Regions from separate parts of the Homo sapiens genome. Here all the other regions are linked to region 1. The links are contacts of gene promoters, found by promoter capture Hi-C in blood cells and fetal thymus (Javierre and others, 2016). All regions are on one chromosome and are shown on one strand. Each heading gives the region's core, a stretch centred on a gene start or on the middle of the fragment in contact. The rest is flanking DNA. Distances are from core to core; before and after follow the strand shown. Region 1 holds the start of E2F6 (E2F transcription factor 6). Region 2 overlaps LOC100506474 (a long non-coding RNA gene). Region 3 overlaps LOC105373436 (a long non-coding RNA gene).

Region 1 (4,940 bases), core at 1,513-4,012:
AGTACCCAACCTGGAACAAACTTCTCTGAGCCTCTGTACCCTCATATATATATATATATATATATATTTTTTTTTTTTTTTTTTTTTTGAGACAGGGTCTTGCTGTGTCACCCAGGCTGGAGTGCAGTGGCATGATCTTAGCTCACTGCAACCTCTACCTCCCAAGTTCAAGCGATTCTCTTGCCTCAGCCTCCTTAGTAGCTGGGATTACAGTCGCCTGCCACCACGCCCGGCTAATTTTTGTATTTATAGAAGAGACAGGGTTGCGCCATGATGGTCAGGCTGGTCTCAAACTCCTGACCTCAATCAAGTGAGCCTCCTGCCTCAGCCTCCCAAAGTGCTGAGATTATAGGTGTGAGCCACCATGCCCGGCCTTCTATAAAGTATTCTTGAAATAGCTGCCTCACAGGCAGATGTGGAAAAGCACCTGTAGTTTACAACTAATTCAGTTATTATTTTTTCTTCCTCTGCTGTGCTGCTATTGTGTGTTAGACACACTCTAATTTAGTACTTATGCTTTCTGCTTATGTATCTCCCCCAGGCTAGTAGCCCCTGGAACACAAGGTAAGGCCCCATCAGATTCAGTTCTTCCCTCAACACCTACCCTACTGCTTGGCCCATGAGAGATGCTTCAAAAAAAAAAATGTGCAAAAGATTATGTCTTGGGGAAAAGCCAGGTCACAGGCACAATAAGTGTGAGGATTGTGCCATTTCCCCGACTCTCCCCAGCTCTGTGCTCATGCTCTTTCTTTAGCCTGGACCACTTGCTACTCCGTCCTGATCCACACCCCACCTTTACTTGCCCAACCCCAACTCTGGTTGTAGAGAATCTAGTCGTCCTTGAAGAATCTTCCTAAAGATCTGAATGCCAAATTAATTAATCAGTTGTGGAGTCAAAGCCTGCCTCTACCACTGCCTACTAGGACCTTGAGTAAATTTTTGTAATCCTGCTGATCTTAATTTTGCTGATCTGCAAATTGGGCAGAAAAATACCTATCTTTCAGTTTTGATATGAGATTTACATAAGCAAATGCATGTGGAATGCCAAACACATAGCAGATGCTGAATAAATGCCTTCAAATGGCCATTTCTAACGGCTCTGGGAAATTCTCCATTCTGCAACAATATGCAGTCTTCTCGAGACCTCCGCTACGTTCTCTTTTTTTCTCATCGTTTATTTAGCAAACATTAATAGAGCATGTTTTATTTGCCAGACACTTTGCTAGATGATAGAGATACAAAGATTAGAAGCCAGGCATGGGTGTCTCACGCCTATAACTCCAGCACCTTGGGAGGCTGAGGCAGGAGGATTGCTTAAGGTAAGGAGTTCAAAAAATAAAATAAAATAAAACATAAAAAAAAATTAGCCAGGCATGGTGGCATGCACCTGTACTCTCAGCTACTTGGGAGTCTTAGCTGGGAGATCACTTGAGGCCAGGAGTTTGACGCTACAGTGAATTATGACCGTGACACTGCCCTCCAGCCTGGGTGACAGAAAAAAAAAAAAAAAGATTAGAGAAGGCCTCTGACCTCACAGTCTAGTGGGGAACCAGCTTCTTCGGGGATTTTTCCCTGCCTCACCTCGCCCACCTCAGGCTGTGTAGAAACCCCCAGTCTAACCAGTTGTTTCCCTCCAACTCTGTACATACCACGGTGTGTTGCCTTTTTATTTCAAACATGTGCTGGCCTCTGTTCTAATCACAGCAACCTGTATCCATTAATCCATTTAATCCTCACAACAACCTTATCAGGTAAGTATTGTCATTATTTGCATTTTCCAAATAAGGAAACTGAGGCACAGACAGATTAAGTAACTGGCTTAATAAGGTCTTCTAGTTTATACGTAGAGGCAGCCAGGACTTGAAAACACACCTTCTGGCTCCAGCTAAATTAACATGCTCTGTTTACTTATCTGTCCCCACTGAAATTGGAGGTTGAACCCGTGGCATATTCAAACGAATAAGTATCGCCTGTGCCCACCCCAATATCTGACACTATAGGTCAACGATAACTCATTCGTCAAACAGGAAGGAGGAAGGAAGGAAGGAAGGAAGGAAGGAAGGAAGGCAGGCAGGCAGGCAGGCGGGCAGGCAGAGGTAAAACGATTCCACAATGGTGTGGTTGCTCACATTTACTAAGCATCAACACTGACCTGCCTGTAAGATGCGCTAACAGAGCTCACGAATAAATGAAGGCTGGGTGTGGTAGCTCACGCCTATAATCCCAGCACTTGAGAGGCCAAGGTGGGAGGACGGCTTGAGCCCCAGAGTTCAGGACCAGCCGGGGCAATATACTGAGACCCTGTCTCTACTAAAATTAAAATTAAAAATTAGCCAGGCACAGTGGCGCGCGCATGTAGTCCCAGCTACTTGGGAGGCTGAGGTGGAGGATCGCTTGAGCCCGGGAATTCAAGGCTGCAGTGAGCCCTGACCACGCCACTGCACTCCAGCCTGGGCGACCAAAAAAAAAATTAAAATAAAAAAAAGGAATAAATGAACATCTCTGCGGCTCAGAACTTTCAGTTATCACCTCAGAACTTTCAGTTATCACCGTCGAGAATTCCAGGCGACCGCTGGGTTTTCCCGGTTGCCTCTTTTCTCTCACCCCTGTTCCCTTCCTCTGGAATTCGGCTCCACCTCTTCCTTTTCCTTTGCCAGCCTCTCCGTGGATTCCGCGGTCCGGGTTTCCCGGGCGGCAGCCGCCGGGAGAGGATCGGTGCGTGGGAGCGCTCCGGCAGCGGCGGGCATGCGCAGAGGGGGGCGGTGTACTGCGCATGCGGGAAGATGGCGGGCCGGGCGACTTGAGATCCGCGGGTCTCCCTCCTCTTTTTCCGTCTGCGTCGGGAGCTCCCGGGCACGTGAGGCCGTGCCGCGTTTACTGGCGGGCGGGACGGCCTAGCCGGGCGGCGCCTCGGAGGAAGCCGCGGACCCCTTAGGTGCTGGGCCCTTGGAAATCGGCGCGTGGGGGGCGGTGCTCGAGCTGAGCGCGAGAGGGCGGGAGAGCTCGTGGGGTGCGAGGGGAGCAGGACGCCCGGCCGGGCAGCATGAGTCAGCAGCGGCCGGCGAGGAAGTTACCCAGTCTCCTCCTGGACCCGACGGAGGAGACGGTTCGCCGTCGGTGCCGAGACCCCATCAACGTGGAGGGCCTGCTGGTAAGCTCCGGGACGGGACGGGGACGGGCGGTGGTCTCCCAAATCCGGCCCCCTCCTCCCCGCGCCGCCGCCAACCCCGCTGGCCGTCGTCTGGGTCGTCTGCTCCCCCTGGGCCAGGCGCTGCCCATCACGTGCTGCGAACTGCGCTCTCCCGCCTTCTGCTTTCAGCATCTGCTCACAGACGTGGTATCAGTCTTCTAGGCTTTTACATCGGAACTTCAGAGCACTGTTGGAGAAAATTGCTCAACTTTGCATTAGAGAGTCCATGTTTATCTCCTTCTATGGACTCTAGCTGTATCTCTGCAACCTATCATTTGTTTTTCTGCCTCCTCTCCCATCCTTCTGCTCTACTGCAGCCGTTTAAAACCTTGTCCACGCTTTATATTTCCCACGCCACAGCTCCCATTCATCAAATTATCTCCCCACCTGTTTGACAGAGAAAATGGTTAGGAAATTTGGCTCCCTTTCCTGCAAAGGCTGATTTCTTCTCTTGTTCAGGACCAGATGCTGTATTCCCCGCGGTTATCAGGGCCCTCAACAAATGCATTTTCTTTTTCTTTTCTTTCTTTTTTTTCTTTTTTTTTTTTTTTTTTGAGATTGAGTTTTACTTTTGTTCCCCAGGCTGGAGTGCAATGGCGCAATCTCAGCTCACTGCAACCCCCACCTCCCAGGTTCAAGAGATTCTCCTGCTTCAGCCTCCCATGTAGCTGGGATCACAGGCATGCGCCACCACACCCAGCTAATTTTGTATTTTTAGTAGAGACGGGATTTCGCCGTGTTGGCCAGGCTGGTCTCGAACTCCTGACGACCTCAGGTGATCCACCGAGCCCGACCTCTCCCCGTATTTTCAATTTCTCTGCTGCTTTCTTTCTATAACTAGTAGTAATTAAACATTTTCCCAAGTCATTATGCCTGGTTCCCCTACCAAATAGTTTGTGATTATTGCCTCATTTAATTTCTCATTTCTCACAGCAGTGTTTTATAATACTAAAAGATTATTATTCTTGTTTCACGGTTGCCAAAACAGACTTGGAGATGCATGTAACGCCGGCTTGCCTGTGGCTGGATAATAAGTGTAGAAACTTGGGTTGAAGCTCCAAATGTCTAACTCCAGATGATAAATTCTTGACTACTAAAACCGCATTCTAAATCCATCCCCATCTTAAAAGATCTCTCCCTTGATTCCATATCCCCTCCCATCTACTGTCTCTCTTCCTCTTCACAGCTAAACTTTTTTTTTTTTTTTTTTTTTTTGGTGACGAAGTCTTGCTCTGTCACCCAGGCTGGAGTGCAGTGGCCTGATCTCGGTTCACTGCAAGCTCCGCCTCCCGAGTTCACGCCATTTTCCTGCCTCAGCCTCCTGAGTAGCTGGGACTACAGGCACCCGCCACCACGCACGGCTAATTTTTTTTTGTATTTTTAGTAGAGATGGGGTTTCACCGTGTAAGCCAGGATGGTCTCAATCTCCTGACCTCGTGATCCACCCGCCTCAGCCTCCCAAAGTGCTTTCACAGCTAAACTTCTTGAAAAGGTTATTTACACTCACTGTTTCCACTTGATGGCCTCTTATTACCAGCCAACCCACTGCTGGGGACCCCTATCCTAAGCACACTTGTAAGACCATTCTAACCAAGGTCACCGACAAGCTCGTCAATTCCAGCAGCTGTTGTAGTTTTGACTACAACACTCGTGTTAGAAACCCTCCCTTGAGCTTCCTTGACGTTTGATGCTCCATCTGCTTCTCTGGCTTCTCCTTGTCCTCATCCTCTTCCCATTCCTTCATGTTGAT
Region 2 (5,050 bases), core at 404-2,903, 1.5 Mb before region 1:
CTTAGTACTTGGAATTTTCCATTAGAGTTAGTTACTGTCTAAGCATTATCCGAGTTGTGTGAAATAGTTTGTCTACAATTAACTCTTTAGTCATTCCTGAAATGTACACTGGTATAATATTCGTGTCATTGAAATTAGAAAGACCACTACAATGATGACAATGACTATTACAATGAATATAATGACAACTGCGATCACTTCAACTATAACTACAACTATTATTATTACAATTACTAATGCTAGTGTAATATTGATAATAATGATAAGGTCTATGTTATTAATAATGATAACAACAGTCAGGTATTGTGCTGTTCCCTGCACATCCATTAACTTATGTATTCCTCACAAAGCCTTTGTAAACAATATTATGACTTTTGTTGTAAGGAAGAATATAAACTCCATAAAAATAGATAACTTACTATTGGTGTATCTCTAGTGTCTAGATAGTAATTGATTTAAAATATTTCCTCAATGAATATTTTTTCTTTTCATTTCTTGCTGGAAAATAATAATAATAATAATTATTATTATTATTATTATTTTTGAGATGGAGTCTTGCTCTGTCGCCAGGCTGGAGTGCAGTGGCACGATCTCAGCTCACTGCAACCTCCACTTCCTGAGTTCAAGTGATTCTCCTGCCTCAATCTCCCCAGTAGCTGGGACTACAGGTGTGTGCCACCACCCCCAGCTAATTTTTGTATTTTTAGTAGAGATGGGGGGTTTCACCATGTTGGCCAGGATGGTCTCAATCTCTTGACCACGTGATCCACCCACCTCGGCCTCCCAAGGAAAACTAAATTTTCTTAATAATAAAATAAGTTGGGAAGAGGGAAAAGAAGATGGGCTAAAAAGAGGCAGAGGAGGATTAGCAAGAAGAAGTAGGGAAGGAAAAAGAGTAGAAGGAGGAAGACATAGGCTAATATTTGAGCTTTTGGCATTTCCCATGTAACGTGCCAAGACTCACACATTCTCTCATTTTATCCTCACAACTACCAGATATGGTACGGATGTTTTATTAACTCCATTTTCATACTTAAAAAAATGGTTCTTAAAGACTTTGACTAAATTGCTGAAGATCACACAGCTTTGAATGTTCTTTTTCTGATTTAGCTTCCTGGGTACAAAGATTAAAAGCGCTCTTTGGTTGTAGTAACAACTTCTGATCTTCTAGAGAAGTTATTTTGGCTAAATTTCCTCTGAATTTCCCTTTCTACAACTTGCTTATTTCCAATTTTCATATGCCTTAATAATTTAAGTTGTTTTATATATTTCTTGGAAAAATCAAGACTATTATAAATAAATTCATAAAAGTAAATCAATTAATAATCTAAGACCAAATATTATAAACAAATAAAATAATAATAAAAGAATCCAATAATAATCTGCAGGTTCTACATTAAAAGTAAAGCAAATGTAGAAGGTGAGTTTTACTTCCTTGATTTTTTTCTGAATATGTATCTTCAGGAACTTATTTCTCAGTAAGCTTAAGTATAAAACCCAGAATTTCAAGCTCCCTTACAAAGAAAATGCTGATAATTTCCAGGGAAGCCCAGCCATCCTCTGAATCCACCTGACTGCCCAGACACCATCCAGCCTTCTGCTGAAGTACTTCTTTCCCACATGTGTTTATGAACCTGTATTTCTCTCAGCTCTGAGGTACATCCTGAGACTCACATGTGTTCTACTTAATTCTACTACATGGCAAGAGGTCAACATTATTATTGGTTCTTTCCTCTCTAAGTCTTAAAACAACCACACTTCAATCTAGGCTAGAGTTTTAGGCTGCATTCTATTTTGAGACACACACTGTCAGTAAAAGCTTTTAAGAGTAACTGGTAATTATGTATCACATATAGTTGTGAAATTTAATTTGTTTGAGCAAAATACCTAATTGTCTCTTTTTTATAATATTTCTCTTTATGTAATATAATTGTTATAATTACATTTCTACTATACACATACAATGATTTTAATTACACAAAAAAGTCATATCTTTTCATAATAAATATAATTAAACATTCAGTGTAGAAGTATATGATGAAATATATTTTATAAATCAGAGACCATAAGATCTTTATGTGTTAATGTTTTATGATTCCTGAAAGCCTAAAACAGTTGAGCTAATATAGATCTACAATAAGTGATTTGCAATGCATTTGTATAGAACAAAACCTTTTTGCTCTTTAAAGTCATTTCACTTTTAAGTCTTTGGACACCACAACAGTTTGCCTGATGAAGAATAATAAGCAGTCATATAAACTAAAAAGGTCAATTCTGCACCTACAATTTCCTTAGCATGTTTAGGACAATTAAGATACATAGTATCTTTGCTGTGTATGCATGTATGTGACTTTGTCATTGTTTTGCTGTTGTACTTATCAATTTCTCTCATCAAATATTTACATGGCCCAAATCTGACATGGCTTGTAGGCTCACATTATCATGCTGGTATTAGGAACTGGGTCTCCCTCTACATTTTGTTATGACATCTGTATCCCAGTCATACTGTTATGTCTACCATTTCACCAATAAGCCTGAACTACCTCAGTGTCTTTGTTAAAAGTTTATTTCTTTTTATTCCCAAGGATCAATTTAAATATTGTGCCTCCCAGTGAGCTTTCTTGGATATTTCTAATCATGAACAACCCATCTACTTCCAATAACTCTATGACAATATTTTTATGTGTATCTACTTATCACATTCTCTTCACTAACCTGTTGGTGTAATAAATTCTAACTAAGATAGTGGAAAAAAGGGTATATACCTTTTTTTTCCAAATCTGTGCTAGTCACCAGAAGAGGTGACTAGCACAGATTTGGGAGGCCAAAGAAAGCATAAAGAATAATTTATGTTCAAACTAACAAAGGAAGAATGAGAAGAAATTAGTTGGGTATCGAAGGCACGGGCAAGATAGCACCCAAGCAAATGGGATAGCCTTAGGAAGACACAGAGGCATGAAAATGTTACGTAGCTGACTATGTGAATCCTCCATCAATATCCCCTAAGTCCTTATAATTGCCACAGCCTGAAACACTTTTTCAAGCATCTAAGCCTGTATCTTTCTGCCTGGAGACTATCTCTGGTTGCTGGAATCTGTTCCGCCTGTGTGCAAATGGCTGGAAATACCAAGAAACTAATCCCCCTCCCAGGATTTAGTGTATGGATATCCTGGCTCTCTTGCCTCTGAGACTGGACAACTCAAATGCATGTGTTCTACACTGGACCCCAGAGCTCCACAGTTAGGTTAAGCTTTCAAAACCAACAGCGGTAGCATGTTCACTAATCCATCCATTACTGACTGCTTTCCTTCTTTGTCTTATTTTCCTATTACCTCACTGGTGATTTCTGACATCAACTCCCTATTAAAATGTATGTGTGATAGTCTGAATGTTTTTGTCCCCCAAAATTTATATACTGAAACCTCAAACCCCAAGGTCATGGTATTAGAAGGTGAAGATTTGGGCAAATAATCAGTCCCCTTAAGTGAGATTAATGCCCTTATAAAAGAGGCTTCAGATAGCTCCCTTGTCCATTCTATCTACCATGTGAGGACACAGTGAGAAGTTGCTGTATTTTTTTTTACCATAAAATGGGCCATCACCAGACAACAAATCTGCTGGTGTATTGATGTTGGACTTCCCAGCTCCCAGAACTGTGACAAGTAAAGTTCAGTTGGTTATAAGCTAAACAGTTCATGGTAATTTGTTTTAAGAAACTGGATGGACCAAGACAACATGTAAGTAAACCCTTGTCTCAAGGTCTGCTTTTGGATAAACTCGAACTGAGACACCATGCCATAACTGATGAACTGAAAGAAGTTCAGGTTGGTTGAAACATGGAAAAAATGGAATAAAAATGAGGAGCATGCATATAGAAAGGTAACAACCAGTGTGTGCAAGAGCTCTGAATAGAGTACATGTTATATAATTGATCTGAAAGGCATTTGGATACCAATGTTTTACTAAAAAAGAGGGGTACAGTTAAACAGTACATTTGTGTTTAGAAAAAGTATTATTCTGGCCACAAGAAAAAAATCAGTTTGTGTGGGGACAGCAGGGACAAAACTGAAGGAATGGTGATAACCTTGGAGGTTTTAAAAGTGACCAAGGTTTGAATTAATAATAATAGCCTGAACTTTAATAGTGGAAAAGTGAATGGGGGAAATGAGGTGTTTTGATAGAGATTTAGTTAATGTACATTCAAATGACACTGATAAAACTGAGTGACTTGATCAAATGTAAAGAGCAAGAAATGGACATCTACTCTGCTTACAGCATGGTGACTATAGCTAACAATATCGTATTGTACACTTGAAACTTCCTATGTGGGTAAATCCTAAGTGTTCTCATCACCAAAATGTAACTGTGTGAGATTCTGGTTATGCTAATTAGCTTGATTGTGGTGATTATTTCACGATGTATACATATATCAAAACATCACATTGTACACCTTAAACAGGTACACTTTTTATTTGTCAATTATACCTCAACAAAGTTAAGGAAAATTAAAACAAGAAAGAGGGTTAAATCAAATAAAATTTCTTGGGAGCTGGTTTGGGGAACTGGGTGGAAGGTGATGGCATTTTTTGAAGTATGAAACAAAAGAGGAGAAGCAGGTCACTCAAAACTTTAGCCAAACTGAAGAAAATGTTTTGTTTGAGACAATGAATATGAGGTCCTAATTGAACTTATAAATAGATAGATTAGAAATAAATAGACATATATAGGCATACCTCAAAATTGTGGATTTGGGCCAAGATTACTATATAAAGTGATGATTGCAATCAAGCAAGTCACAGAAATTTCTGTTTTGGTTTCCCCATATATATAGAATTTATGTTTATGCTATACTGTACTCTTCTGTGTGCAATAGCATTATGTCTGAAAATAATTCACATATCTTAATTTAAAAATACTTTATTGCTAAAAATGCCTGCAATCATCTGAGCTTTCAGACAGTGGTAGTCTTGTTGCTGGTGGAGGGTCTTGCCTTGATGTTAATGGCTGCTGACTTTTTAGGATGATGGTTGTTGAAGGTCAGGGCGGCTGT
Region 3 (4,793 bases), core at 525-3,024, 1.6 Mb before region 1:
TTCTCATCTTCACGTTGACTAGGCTGAGAAAAAGGAAGAGAGGTTTTGGTCTTGCTGTCTTAGAACTGGTAGAGGCTGAAGAGGTAGAAGGAAGAGACAGGAGAGAGAGGCACGTGGTGTAACTTTATGGAAATACATCATAATTTCTGTCAACATTTTTGCTTTTTAATTTATCTACAAATATTTCTATATGGTACCAATTCTTCCCCCACCATTTGTTGTAGTCTCAGTGCCCATATCCTACAAGGGTCTATCTATGCTGTAAAAGCATTTCAAAGTAGTCTTGAATAATCAGAATGATTCTTCCAGATTGTCTAATAACAATTTGTTTTCTGCACTGTTTTTTCCATCTCCCTCCTCATCATCTGATACTGGTTCAGAAGCACTCAACTCCATCCAAGTTGTCTTCTGTTAATTCCTCCAGTGTGGTATCTTTTCACTTTTGAATTTCTCTCAAGACTTATACCTTGAAACCCTTCACACCCACCTTTTTTTTTTTTGCCATATGCATAATCTCTTTCATTATTTCTTTGATTGGCTCTGTTGTAAACCCAGTGAAGTCATTCACAACACCTGGACCCAGTTTTCTCCCATAGAAATGTATTGTTTTGGGCTTGATGGCTTTCATGAATTTTTCCATAGCAATAATGGCATTTTCAATGGTGTGACCCTTCTAGACATTCATAATGTTTTCTCTATCAGTGTTCCCTTCCACAGCATTGACAATCCTTTCCATAGAGTACCATGTGTAATGAGCATTAACAGTCCTTCTGACCTCCCGATCTAGAGGCTGAATTAGAAACACTGTGTTTAGGGACAAGTAGATCACTTCAGTGATTTCAGTGTTGACCTCTAGGGCTTCTGGATGGCAAGAAGCATGATCTATTATCAAAAGCTTTAAAAGGCAATCCCTTACTAGGAAGGTACTTCCTGACTTTAGGGACAAAGCATCAATGGAACCAGTTAAGAAGGAGTTTTGATTGTCCAGGCCAACTTGTTGTACAGTCAGAAGACTGGCGGCTGGTGTTTATCTTTGTTCTTCAAGACTCAGGGGTTAGCAGCTTTACAGATAAGAGCAGTCCTCATCAGAAACCCAGCGGCATTTGCACAACATATTAGAGGTCAGTTATCCCTTCCTGCTTTAAATCTTAGTGCCCATTTCTCTTCCTTACTAATAAATGTCCTTTGTGCCAATTTTTTTTCCAGGTTGAGCAATTTCATCCTCATAAAAAAACCTGTTCAGACCAACATCCTTCCTCCTCAATGGTTTTCTTAATAACATCTGGGAACTTGTCTGCTGTCTCTTGGTCAGCATAAACTGTTTTGTTTGTTATCTTGACTTTTTTTTTGCTGAAATCTGTTTCAAAATTATCAAACCATCCCTTTCTGGCATTAAATTATTTAACTTTAGATCTTTTACCTTTTTATTTTTATTTTTTTTTTTTTGCTTTAAGTTACCATATAATGACTTTGCTTTTCCTAGAATCATATTCAAATCTATAGGTATGCTTTGCTTATGGCAATCCTGCACCACATAAAAGCTGCATTTTCAATATGATATAAAAGGATATTTCACAAAAAGTACAAGATTTTTGCACCTGTTGACATAGCTGCAGCAACAGCTTCAGTCCTTATGCTGGATTCATTTATCTTTAAATGGTAGGAAACCGCAATAGCAGACAACAATCTATGGTACATATCAAGCAATTCAACTTTTTCTTGTAATGCCATGACTTTTCTTGGCTTCTTGGAGGCACTTTGTATGGGGTCCCATGGTGTAATTCAAGGTTATAGGATTGCACTAAACATGATGAAAAATACATAAGAACTGTGAGAACTCACTTTTTACCGTGGTACACAATTTACTGGAGTGATGAGCTGCTCAGGTGGAGGTTTTTAGCATAGTATGGCATTCTATGCAGATGTAACATGAGCTCACCACAACAACAACAGGAGGTGGCTATGAAATGATTACCGTAGTACAGTATTATTACACTTAATTTTATGCAGTCAGAATTTGATTCTTCATCTTTACACTTCTTTACATTTCTCTTGACTGCAAATGGTGCCATGTATGGTTTACAAGCATTTGTGTGTTTAAGTTTTGATAAATTTTAACTTTTTATGATAGATTTATGTACTATTTTATGGTAGCAAATGAAAAAGTAGACTAGTATCTGCATGTATTTTATGTATTAATGACATACCTAACATTTTCTTAATTTATTTTTATACTTCTAGGCTACGTGGTTAGTCTGCAAGTTTTTGCAAATTGTCACAAATCTCCAAAATTTTTCAAATTATTTATTGAAAAAAATCCACGTATAAGTGGACCCACAGAGTTCAAATCAATGTTGTTGAAGGGTCAACTGTAGTGTGTTTCTGTTTTAAACTTATATTTCTTTATATATTTATGGAAGATATTCTCACTATATAAGTCCTAGGCTGAAAGTTCATTTTTTTCTCAGCATTTTAAACATACCATTCAATTGTCTTCTATTCATGATGATTTCTTACGATAATTTAGCTATCACTCTTATTATTTGTCCTTTTATGTAAGCTGTCTTCTTTCGTGTTTTTATTTTTCCTTTCTGGCTGCTTTTAAGACTATTTCTATATCTTGCATTTCCCCCCGAGTTTTGACTAAGCTTTTCCTGGGTATTTTTTTTTTTTTTTTTGTATTTATTGTGCTTGGGTCAACTGCTTGGATTTGGGGGTTGTTATCTTTCAATTTCGAAATTTCTTAGGTACTACCTTCTCAGATGTTATCATGACTGGTCTTCAAATTCACTAGTATGTTCTCCTTTCATGTCCTGTCTGCTCTTTAGCCCACCCAATGACCTTTTTATTTCTGATATTGGGTTCTCCATTCCTAGTGTTTTAATTTTATGAATAATATTTTCATGGATATGCTGAAATTACCTATTTCTTCACTCTTGTCTTTCTTCCCCACTGTATTTGTTAAAGTAATTATCTTGATGATTTCAACATCATTGTTTGATCATTCTTGCCTCTAGTCCAACTCTGGTCCTGCTTGTATTGACTTGACTATATTTTATCTTAATTGTGGGTTGCAATTGTCATCTCTTTTGCTTTTCTCATTGTTTATATCTGTGTGCTAAGGATTATATGTAAGAGAACAGTACAGACCTGAAGAAAATAATATTTATCTTCCAAAGAAGTACATGACCGTCTGTTAGGTTGTCAAGGCAGTGGCTAGGTGAATCTAATCTGCACTGAAGCTAGGTCTGAGCTTTGCTGCAGCACTGACTAGTTCTCAAATCATTTCAAATATTTCAAAGGCAGAATTAAACTTTTCACTTGGCATGACATTGCGATTATCCCAACAAGATTCTGGAGATTTCTTTGTTTTTTCGCCTTAGCTATCAGCCTTGAAGGCTGATAGAAAATACTTATTCACCTCTATCTTCTGCTTGCCAGCTGTTTGCTTACCATGCAATTTTCTTTGCTTTATATTTTCTCCACTAGCTTTCTGTGTATCAAGAGACTTCTCTCAATCTCACTGCTCTGCCTTCAGTTCTCAGAGAGCCATTGTAGTGGAGACCTGCTGTGTCTCAGAGTGATTTACTTTGGCTCTCATGGTCTAATCCCATTTTTCAGAGGGTCATCCATTGTCTTGCATTTAGAAAGGTTCTGAGTACTAGGGAATCTCTCCCCACAATATTATCCAACCACAAGCCTCTGTCACACTACCCTGGAACACAATTCTAAAAGCCAGAAACTGTGACATCAAGACAGTCTAACAAATACTTAAACTGTTTCTTGACTGGGAAATTGCATTACCCCTTAATGGATGTATCCATTTCTAAATTTGTTAGAGAGGGAAATAATGCCTTTCCTTTGTAGATGAAATTAAACAAAGTGCTTTAAAAGAAGTGTAAAGTATTATACAAAAGTAAGGTCTTGTTAGCATCATATGTAATGTATTCAGATGCCAACAGCTGTTTTTCAATGAACACTTCCTAGCACCAGGGAAAACACTTTATGCGTGTTTGTTCAAGGACCAGAATGCTCTGACAGCAGCTGGCAATTTCAAAGACCAAATCAAACCAATTTTTCACTGTTAGGAAATTTGCTTCGGAGCCCTCTTATTGTATGTTCAGAGTAATATATAATTGTGATTTTTAAAAAATTGATTTGAGATCCTGTCTCAGGAAATTTACTTATGGTCTCTTATTCAAATCTGAAAAAAATGAAAAGATAATAAACTGTTATCAGTACAAATGAGGGCACTAAGACTCAAGTATCATGTCCCAGTTAACAGATAAGAGCAGGCTTTAACTTACAGTCTCAGTAACTCCAAATTCTTTGTCCTTTCTATCACAGTATATTGATATTTTGAGTTTACACTACCATATTATTTCAATCTCTTTTCACTGTACTTTCAGATTCCTTTAAGACTTTAATTCACCTTTAAAAATAGAAGTTTTTAATGTCAGTTTTAACATTAATTTTTCAATTTTGCTTCTCTCTTCAAACTGTAGCTCTGTAAATAAAAAAATAAAATCAATTTTCTCCAAGTTCAGAGCATTTTCTCTTCTTTCTATCCAGGTATGTCTAAGTTCCATTATTTTAAAGTATCAGCACAATCTCTGACTGTCTATTAAAGGGATCTGTTTTGCCAGGATATTCAATAGAGTCAATGTTTATCCCTGTAATCTATAATTATTAGTGAATTTCCTCTCCCATCTCCAGGATGCCATCTGGAATTGCTCTTTGTTCTCTGCCCTGAGGCAAGATATCTACTGCTGACCTGTTTTCTCCTTTCTGAA

The links. The method cuts DNA at HindIII sites, captures the fragments that hold promoters and counts their contacts. A CHiCAGO score of 5 or more calls a contact.
Region 2: a fragment that was not itself captured here is called in contact with the fragment with the promoter of E2F6 in region 1 in 2 of 17 cell types (naive B cells and total B cells); the score reaches 9.4 in naive B cells.
Region 3: a fragment that was not itself captured here is called in contact with the fragment with the promoter of E2F6 in region 1 in 3 of 17 cell types (total B cells, naive B cells and total CD4 T cells); the score reaches 13.2 in total B cells.

What each region holds. Positions count from the first base shown.
Region 1 is chr2:11,463,983-11,468,922 of GRCh38, reverse strand. It overlaps E2F6 (E2F transcription factor 6), which reads left to right and starts at 2,762. Exons shown (of 7, transcript NM_198256.4): 1 at 2,762-3,151. The coding sequence starts at 3,044. RefSeq lists enhancers at 1,947-2,026, 2,454-3,010, 3,011-3,568. The HindIII fragment of the contact is 15,644 bases long and covers 1-4,940 here.
Region 2 is chr2:12,992,947-12,997,996 of GRCh38, reverse strand. All of the region lies in intron 4 of LOC100506474 (a long non-coding RNA gene), which reads left to right. Among named protein-coding and RNA genes, the nearest start is that of MIR3125, 260 kb to the right of the region's middle. The HindIII fragment of the contact is 336 bases long and covers 1,486-1,821 here.
Region 3 is chr2:13,014,926-13,019,718 of GRCh38, reverse strand. All of the region lies in intron 1 of LOC105373436 (a long non-coding RNA gene), which reads right to left. Among named protein-coding and RNA genes, the nearest start is that of MIR3125, 280 kb to the right of the region's middle. The HindIII fragment of the contact is 1,753 bases long and covers 898-2,650 here.